2 separate regions of the Homo sapiens genome follow, and region 2 is linked to region 1. Evidence: promoter capture Hi-C in 16 types of primary human blood cells and fetal thymus (Javierre and others, 2016). All regions are on one chromosome and are shown on one strand. Each heading gives the region's core, a stretch centred on a gene start or on the middle of the fragment in contact. The rest is flanking DNA. Distances are from core to core; before and after follow the strand shown.

Region 1 (4,699 bases), core at 1,497-3,996:
GTTGCCCAGGACAGTCTCGAACTCCTGGCCTCAAGCTGTCTTCCCACATCAGACTCCCAAAGTGTTAGGGTTACAGTCATGAGCCACGTGCCTGGCCCATTTGGTGCTTTGGATAGGCCCACCTAGGACAGGAATTCACGGGAGTTGAACTCCTCTTTACTGAATGCCAGCCCTCACTTTAGGAGGTACTCCTGGGGACACAAGGATGAGAAAGCCAGCTTGTTCCCATAGAGACTTCCATTCAAAGAGAAAGTCAAACAACGAACTAGAATGTACACAGCCAATCGAGGGAGGAAGAGGACTGCATTCAGGTGCCAGATCCTCCTCTTCCTCAGTGCCTTCCTCTACTCTCCCCTCTACAAAGAACTCTGGCCTCAATGTCAGCATTATACATCTGGACCACAGCTGGGCTGCTGTTCAATGGCCTCCCCATGACTAGCTTTCTGCTCTGGCCAAGCCCACCCTGGGCACTCGGGGCATCTGTTAAAAAGATAATCACTGCCAGGCATGGTGGCTCATGCCTGTAATCCCAGCACTTTGGGAGGCCGAGGTGGGCAGATCACCTGAGGTCAGAAGTTTGAGACCAGCCTGGCCAACACGGTGAAATCCCATCTCTACTAAAAATACAAAAACTAGCCAGGCATGGTGGTGGGCGCGTGTGGTCCTAGCTACTTGGGAGGCTGAGGCAGAAGAATTGCTTGAACCCGGGAAGTGGAGGCTGCAGTGAGCTGAGACTGTGCCACTGCACTTCAGCCTGGGCGACAGAGTGAGACTCCTCTCAAAATAAATAAATAAATAAAATTAAAAAATAAGATAATCACTACCAGGAATGATAACTCTTAGAAGAACTGGGAGCAGTGGAGAGGGCACCAAGATGATTTCCACGTCTGTCCAGATTTCCTGGAGCAAGGCAAATACATTTCCCAAATAAATGGACTTCTTCCTGAGAAAGTGGAGAACCCCAAACTTACACATCTTAGTAGAGGGCGCCATCTTCTGGCCTGGACCCTGCCCCCTCCCAGCCTGTGTGTGCCCGAGGACCAGGCTCTCCTAGGCTCCCAGTAAGTACATCATGTGTGACTGGGAAAGACAACCAGCTTTCTCCTTCCGTGGCTGGCTGCAGGATCATAAAACTGCTTTTCCACTTTACAATCAATCAGGTTGGGTCAGGCAGGATTTCAAGGCTTCTGTCCTAGGTAGATGGGCTCTGTAAAGTCCCGCTTAAAAAAAAAGTGAAGGTAGGTTCAAGATCTGCACACAACTGGGGATGAGGGGAGTCTGATGCTCTGCTGTGTGATCATGCAAGGAACTGTTCCCAGTGCAAGTTATGTCGCTTTCAGGGACACTTTCTTCATCCAAATAAGAATGTCAACCACACTAAAACTAATGGATGTCTCTGAGTGGTGTGTGTGTGCGGGTGCGCATGTGCAAATGTATCTTAATATTTAACTGTCAGACAGCCAGAAATAAGCTCTCATCCTGTATCTCACGCTAGTGGGGAGGTCTAGAAAAGGCGGGGGGGCTTGGACTGCCGGATCCCACCCACGATTAATGTGCTGAAGCCCCCTTCTGTTATGATACTAAAGTAATTCAAATTGAAGAGAAAGGACCGTTGGGTATTATTGTGTCTCTTGGCCCTCCAATGTGAGCGATCCCCATGGGAATGGACGGGATGTCTCTGAAAAGGAGTAGTGATTCTCACACTCTGAGAAAGCAGTCTCTTAGGGAAGGGATGGTGTCTTTAGGTTTGGATATCACGTGTAAAAACTGGGTGTGGAAAAGAAGGGAGTGACACTTCTTAAAGGTATGTTTTATTTTGTTTGAGATGGAGTCTCGCTCTGCCACCCAGGCTGGAGTGCAGTGGCGCGATCTTGGCTCACTGCGCCTCCTGCGCCTCCTGGGTTCAAGCGATTCTCCTGCCTCAGCCTCCTGAGTAGCTGGGATTAGAGACGTGCACCACCACGCCCAGCTAATTTTTGTGTATTTTTAGTAGAGACGGGATTTCACCATGTTGCCCAGGCTGGTCTCAAACTCCCGAGCTCAGGTGATCCACCTGCCTCGGCCTTCCAAAGTGCTGGGATTACAGGCGTGAGCCACCACGCCCAGATAGCTCAAGGTTTTTTAAAAAACATCTGAATCTGCGTGCTTGCGCCGCTCCAGGTCTCCATCACTCCATATTCTTTCACTCCAAACTCCTTTAGACATTCCTGCCTGGCCTCCAAAAGCGTTTGGGTTTGCATCTCTGGATTTTTTTTTCAACTTCCTCATTTTACAGTTGAGAAAAACAGGAGGTAAAGAGAGGAAGGAATCTGCTTTAGGAAGCAGCTCTGGAAAGCAGAACACAGTTTCCTGCTCCCGCTCTCTCTCCACTACTCTCCCTTTAAAAAATATACTTTCTTCTATGGCCAATTAAACATTCATTACCAACCTGCGATTCCCTTAGGACTTTAAAAGGAGGGTTGTTCAGGGGTGACAACAATCTTCTGTCTGTTATACGTGTCCATGTAGGCAAAAACTTTCCCAAATTCAACCCCAGTCTAGGTCCCAAAAACTAACTACAGAGTGCAGGGAAACCAGACAGCTACAGTTCAGCCCAGGAACCTCCTCTCCTAGCTCACGTTTCTACCCGAGCCCGCGGAGGCACAGACCGGAAGTGGCGCGCAGCCTCCCAGCGGAGGGAACCGCCTATGCCTCCGTCGCGCTGGCCGGAAGACGGGGGTGCAACCCTTTGAAGTGTCCCCTCCTACTTCTTGCTGCCTCACGGTTGCTGTTGCAGACCCAGGAGTCTCTGAAGGCTTCCGCGGCTTTGGGGCCGGTTGTGAGATGCCAGGCAGAGGCCGCTGCCCGGACTGCGGCTCCACGGAGCTGGTGGAAGACTCGCACTATTCGCAGAGCCAGCTGGTGTGCTCCGACTGCGGCTGCGTGGTCACCGAGGGGGTCCTTACCACTACCTTCAGCGACGAGGGCAATCTCCGAGGTACTTGTGGCCCTGGGGACAGCCTGGGGCGGTGGAGGGATTAACATCAGATTCCTTTTGCCTCCCCGCTCCCCCCATACTCCTAACTGTAACGCACACACTTAATTTGAGAGAAAATGACCTAAAGTGAGCGAGGGAGCTGAAGGAGATGGGGGCTGCCATTCATCTGTGTTTTCCCAGCACTTAGTATCGGGCATAGATGGTGCGTGTAATAAATATTGAATAAGTGAGACAGAAACAAAAGTTCCACTCATCTTGCCATGTCTGGTCATTGTGGAAGGATTGCCGATACGATTATAGCAGGTATTATTACCCTGAAATAGTTTTAAGCACAAACTGGCAAAACATCACTTTTCTTTGCTTTCCAAGTTTCTGACCAGTGCAGCCCTCAAAATCTGCAGCCATTGTCTGGGTGGGGTGGCTTACGCCTGTAATCCCAGTGCTTTGGGAGGCAGAGCCGAGAGGATTGCTTGAGCCCAGGATCTCGAGACCAGCCTTGGTAACGTAACGAGACAAGTGCCTAAAAAAATTTTTTTTTAATTAGCCAGGTATGGTGGCATACACCTGTAATCCCAGCTACCCAGGAATCTGAGGTAGGAGGATTGCTTGAGCCTGGAAGTTGAAGGCTGCCGTGAGCTGTGATCGCACCACTGTGCTCCAGCCTGGACTATAGAGGGAAACTCCTTAAACAAACAACAACAAAATCTGCTGCTAGGAAAATTGCCTGTATGGAATGTACTGGAAGGATGACTGGAAATTTGGAACACTTGGAGCTGCTTTAATGCAGTCCTAACCTTTCCCAGTCTCTGTGTATTCGGAACCTCTTGTAGACATAGAAAACCAGATGGGGCCTTTAACTGTGCAGCAGCAGATGCTCAATGATTTGAATTTTGCGTCCTGGTTTTGTGTGGTGGGAGGGCAGGGGTCTGATGAATAAAGGCTAAGCACACTATTTGTTGTTTATTATCTTACAGAGGTAACATATTCCCGAAGCACAGGGGAAAACGAACAAGTTAGTCGCAGCCAGCAACGAGGTGAGAATTGACCTTTTACAACACAGTGGCTTTAAAGAAAACTATCCTAGGCCAGGTGCTGTGGCTCACGCCTGTAATCCCAGCACTTTGGGAGGCCTAGGCAGGTGGATCACCTGAGGTCAGGAGTTCAAGACCAGCCTGGCAAACATAGCGAAACCCCGTCTCTACTAAAAATACAAAAATTAGCTGGGCATGGTGGCATGTACCTGTAGTCCCAGCTACTTGGCAGGCTGAGGCAGGAGAATCGCTTGAACCTGGGAGGTGGAGGTTGCAGTGAGCTGAGATCGCGCCACTGCACTCCAGCCTGGGTGACAGAGTGAGACTCCATCTCAAAAAAATAATAATGAGCCGGGCGCGGTGGCTCATGCCTGTAATCCCAGCACTTTGGGAGGCCGAGGCGGGCGGATCACGAGGTCAGGAGATTGAGACCATCCTGGTTAACACGATGAAACCCCATCTCTACTAAAAATACAAAAAAATTAGCCGGGCGTGATGGTGGGTGCCTGTAGTCCCAGCTACTCGGGAGGCTGAGGCAGGAGAATGGCGTGAACCCGGGAGGCGGAGCTTGCAGTGAGCCGAGATCGCACCACAGCACTCCGGCCTGGGTGACAGAGCGAGACTCTGTCTCAAAAAATAATAATAATAATAATAATAATAATAATAATAAAAGAAAACTATCCTGGTGGCC
Region 2 (4,267 bases), core at 63-2,562, 90 kb before region 1:
ACCCTGTCTCTACTAAAAATACAAAAAAAAGCCGGGCGCAGTGACTCACGCCTGTAATCCCAGCACTTTGGGAGGCCCAGGTGGGCAGATCACCTGAGGTCTGGAGTTTGAGACCAGCCTGATCAACATGGAGAAATCCCCCTCTCTACTAAAAATACAAAATTAGTTGGGTGTGGTGGCGCATGCCTGTAATCCCAGCTACTCGGGAGGCTGAGGCAGGAGAATCTCTTGAACCTGGGAAGCAGAGGTTGCAGTGAGCCGAGATCACACCACTGCACTCCAATGTGGGCAGCAAGAGCGAGACTCTGTCTCAAAAAAAAAAAAAAAAAAAAAGAGAGAGTCATTAAACATCAAAAGGAAAAGAAAGCAAGCAATATGCAGACTGACTCTATAGAGGCTGGCTCTTTTCTCCCCTTGGCCTCTGCTGTCTATACTTACTAGTTGGCTGTCATTGAAACTTAACAAATGGCCAGGTGTGGTGGCTCATGCCTGTAATCCCAGCAGTTTGGGAGGCCAAGGCAGGCAGATCACCTGAGGCAAGGAGTTCGAGACTATCGACAAAGTGAGACTCCATCTCAAAAAAAAAAAAAACCAAAAAAAGAAAGAAAAAGAAACTTAACAAACATATGTAGAAGTCTTGGCTCTAGATAACTGAGAGAAATAGGACTGGCTTAGTGAGTTGCCAATTATATTCTAATAATAGGATTCTTTATTAAAACAACTGTGGAAGAAAACAGTGTTTGCTTTTTATTCCTTTTGAAATCTGGGGCACTTTGCAAAATGGAAATCAATGCCTCGACTTGCATTGGTGTGTGATCTGGGGTTTTTGCTTCTGCAGGAGAAGCCCTATCTGGCTTATTGGCTGCCTGCCTTGCCCTATGTCTTTCTTTCTTTTTTTTTTTTTTAATTTGTATAAATGTGTGAAGTACAAGTGTAATTTTGTTAGATGCATACATCGCATAGTGGTGAAGTCAGGGCTTTTAGGGTATCCATAACCCCAACAATGTACATTGTATCTGTTAAGTAATCTCCCATTATCCTTGCCCTGTCATCTAAGGAGTGGGCTTGTTACTTTGGACTGAGCCACCTGGGGCTAGAGAAGAGAAGGCATTGAGTGAGGGAAACGGGCTTGGGAATTCCGGAGATTGTTATCCTGCCCTGCCCGCTGTCTGAGGGGATTCTCCTCAAGTACCCTGGAATGTTCCTGTGGCCCCTGTGGATCGCCACCACAAAGATCATGAGGTTCTGTTGCCCTGGCAACCCGTTGTCCAGCGCCTCTGCACTGGGGCTGCCAAGGTTCCAGGAAGAGGCAGGACTGCCCGGCCCAGCCTTGGAGGAAGACTTCTGGGCAGAAGCGGAACACAGGAGCAGAGACACATAGTCTTGGCTCCAGTTTCGTTTCAGTTATGCCCACCCTTTCAGTGTTCATGGATGTGCCCCTCGCCCACAAGCTAGAGGGCAGCTTGTTAAAGACCTACAAACAAGATGATTACCCGAACAAGATATTCTTAGCCTATAGAGGTAGATGCCTAGCAGTTCTGAAGTATAAGACTTAAGTGATGGTAACTGCCTCTAGGAGGACAGTGTTCCCTGCTGCAGGGGGAGGGGTGCAGCCCAAGCTTCTGTGGGTGGAGAGATCTTTTCTTGTTAACAGAATTACCCAGTGGGGAAAAGTGCAGATAAGGTCCCAGGTCATTCCATGCTCTCTGCCCTTCTCTGGGGGCTTCTAGGGATTTGGTGAGAGCTATGTCCTCTTCCACAACTCTATGCTTGGGGGCCTGCATGGCCATCCCACACTTCTTCAGATTCTTACCTCCTCTCTCTCTCTTTCTCTTTCTCTTCCTGTTCTTGAACCAAGAATGGTTCTCCAGATTGAGCTTTCTGCTATGCAACTGGGGCTCACCACTGTGAAAGTCAGGGTTACCTTTATTTAGCTTCATCTACCTATAACTCTCATTTTGCATATATATATATATATATATATATATATATATATATATATATTTTTTTTTTTTTTTTCTTGAGACAGGGCCTCACTCTGTTGCCCAGGCTGAAGTGCAGTGGCAAGATCTCAGCTCACTGCCACCTTTGCCTCCTGGGCTCAAACCATCCTCTTGCCTCAGCCTCCTGAGTAGCTGGGACTACAGGCGCTGGTCACCATGTCTGGCTGTTTTGTATTTTTTTGTAGAGACAGGGTTTCATCATGTTGCCCAGGCTGATCTTGAACTCCTGAACTCAAGTGATCCACCCACCTTAGCCTCCCGAAGTGCTGGGATTACAGGCCTGAGCCACCAATCCTGGGCTTGTATAATTTTTAACCTTTAAAATGGCATAGGTTTCAGTTGTCTTTTTTAAAAAGACAAAAATAATACACATTCACTAACAGCATATTCTTTTCATCAAGGAGAAAAGAAAAGGGAAAGTTGTATTTTCACAGGCACCTTCCCACAGCCCCATGGAGTCCAGGAGAGATTTGTTTGCAGGCTGTCTGCAGAGCTCAGCCCTGGGGGCCCAAACCAGGCATCTGGAGCTCCCTCTGTGGTTTTCCTCACAGTCTGCATGACAAATGAAGGCCATCCCTGGGTTTCTCTCGTGGTGCAGAAGACTCGACTACAGATTTCACAGGATCCCTCCCTGAATTATGAGTACTTGCCCACCATGGGCCTGAAATCATTCATCCAGGCCTCTCTAGCACTCCTCTTTGGAAAGCACAGCCAAGCCATTGTGGAGAACAGGGTGAGAAGGTGGGCCCTCCCCTGGCTCATTTAGACACAGAGAGTGGCGATCTGGGTCTGCACAACCTTAAACCCGAAGGGGACCTCGGAGGGCCCCCTGGTATTGATAAAAGAGATACCTGAGGCTCAGAGAGTCCACAAGTCCTTAGCCATCGAGTCAGGATCGGAATCTCAGTCCAGTGGTATTCCCACCTGCTCACACTGCTGATTTGAAAGCTCTTTCAAGACAGGAATGATCTGAATTGGAGGTGGTGTTAGTATTCCCATTACTGTTTTATTTTTTAACCTATTATATATATTTTTTGAGACAGAGTCTCACTCTGTCACCCAGGCTAGAGTGCAGTGGTGCCATCTCAGCTCACTGCAACCTCCACCTCCCAGGTTCAAGCAATTCTGGTGCTGCATCCTCCTGAGTAGCTGGAATCACAGGCATGTGCCATCACGCCCAGCTAATTTTTGTATTTTTTGTAGAGACAGGGTTTCACCATGTTGGCCAGGCTGGTCTCAAACTCCTGGCCTCAGGGGATTCCCTGCCTCGTCCTCCCAAAGTGCTGGGATTACAGGCATGAGCTACTGCGTCTCGCCTCCATTACTGTTTTAGAGTGTTATTTCTGTCTATTTCTTTTTATTTTTTAATGTTTATTTACTTATTATTTTTTTGAGACGGAGTCTCACTCTGTCACCCAGACTGGAGTGCAGTGGCCTGATCTCCGCTCACTGCAACTTCCGCCTTCCGGGTTCAAGTGATTCTCCTGCCTCAGCCTCTTGAGTAGCGGGGATTACACATGCCCAACACCACATCCGGCTAATTTTTGTATTTTTAGTAGATACGGGGTTTCAACATGTTGGCCATGACCTCGAGTGATCCACCCACCCCAGCCTCCCAAAGTGCTGGAATTACAGGTGTGAGCCACCACACCTGGCCTATTTGTGTCTATGTCTTGCTGGCAGGTAGGGGGTGTACACACTGTTGGTGACAGTGGTGCCTTCCAGCTTGGCGTCCAGTTTCTCAGAGCTTGGCATAAGGATGCTCGTATAGTTTACATCATCTCTTCTCAAAAAGGTTAGTCTTACCCAAGATGAGGGGAACAGCAATCCCCGTCCCTTGTTCCTAATCCTCACCCCATTTGCCATCTTCACTGTTATCCCTCATTCTCTGTCATGAGCAAAATGGCAGACAAGCCAAGCTATTTATGTCCTTTTCCTGTTAATGTCCCACCTTCAGCCAGTGACTCTCAGCCCCACACTCCAGTACCTCTGTCTCCGTCTCTCTGTTTCCCATGTACCAGCTAGTGGGGGGCTGTGTTCCCACAGAACTGCATGGACTCGTCTTCCAGGACATGGGCTTTACAGTTTATGAATACTCTGTCTGGGACCCCAAGAAGCTATGCATGGACCCCGACATACTCCTCAATGTGGTGGAGGTAGAGGGGCCCCGCTCAGAAACTCCTCCCTAGAGCTGACTTACAGCCTAATGTTCCTCTCCTCCCCACACCTCTTAAGTCATCCAAGACCTTTTCCAGGTTTGAATT

Evidence for each region. The method cuts DNA at HindIII sites, captures the fragments that hold promoters and counts their contacts. A CHiCAGO score of 5 or more calls a contact.
Region 2: a contact is called between the fragment with the promoter of GOT1L1 here and the fragment with the promoter of BRF2 in region 1, in 17 of 17 cell types (erythroblasts, M1 macrophages, megakaryocytes and 14 more). The highest score is 18.3, in erythroblasts.

The regions. Positions count from the first base shown.
Region 1 is chr8:37,847,908-37,852,606 of GRCh38, reverse strand. It overlaps BRF2 (BRF2 general transcription factor IIIB subunit), which reads left to right and starts at 2,746. Exons shown (of 4, transcript NM_018310.4): 1 at 2,746-2,977; 2 at 3,952-4,011. The coding sequence starts at 2,824. RefSeq lists enhancers at 2,541-2,890, 2,931-3,070. The HindIII fragment of the contact is 8,285 bases long and covers 1-4,699 here.
Region 2 is chr8:37,937,169-37,941,435 of GRCh38, reverse strand. It overlaps GOT1L1 (glutamic-oxaloacetic transaminase 1 like 1), which reads left to right and starts at 1,312. Exons shown (of 9, transcript NM_152413.3): 1 at 1,312-1,521; 2 at 2,555-2,736; 3 at 3,687-3,798; 4 at 4,050-4,159. The coding sequence starts at 1,407. RefSeq lists an enhancer at 1,290-1,806. The HindIII fragment of the contact is 5,963 bases long and covers 1-1,621 here.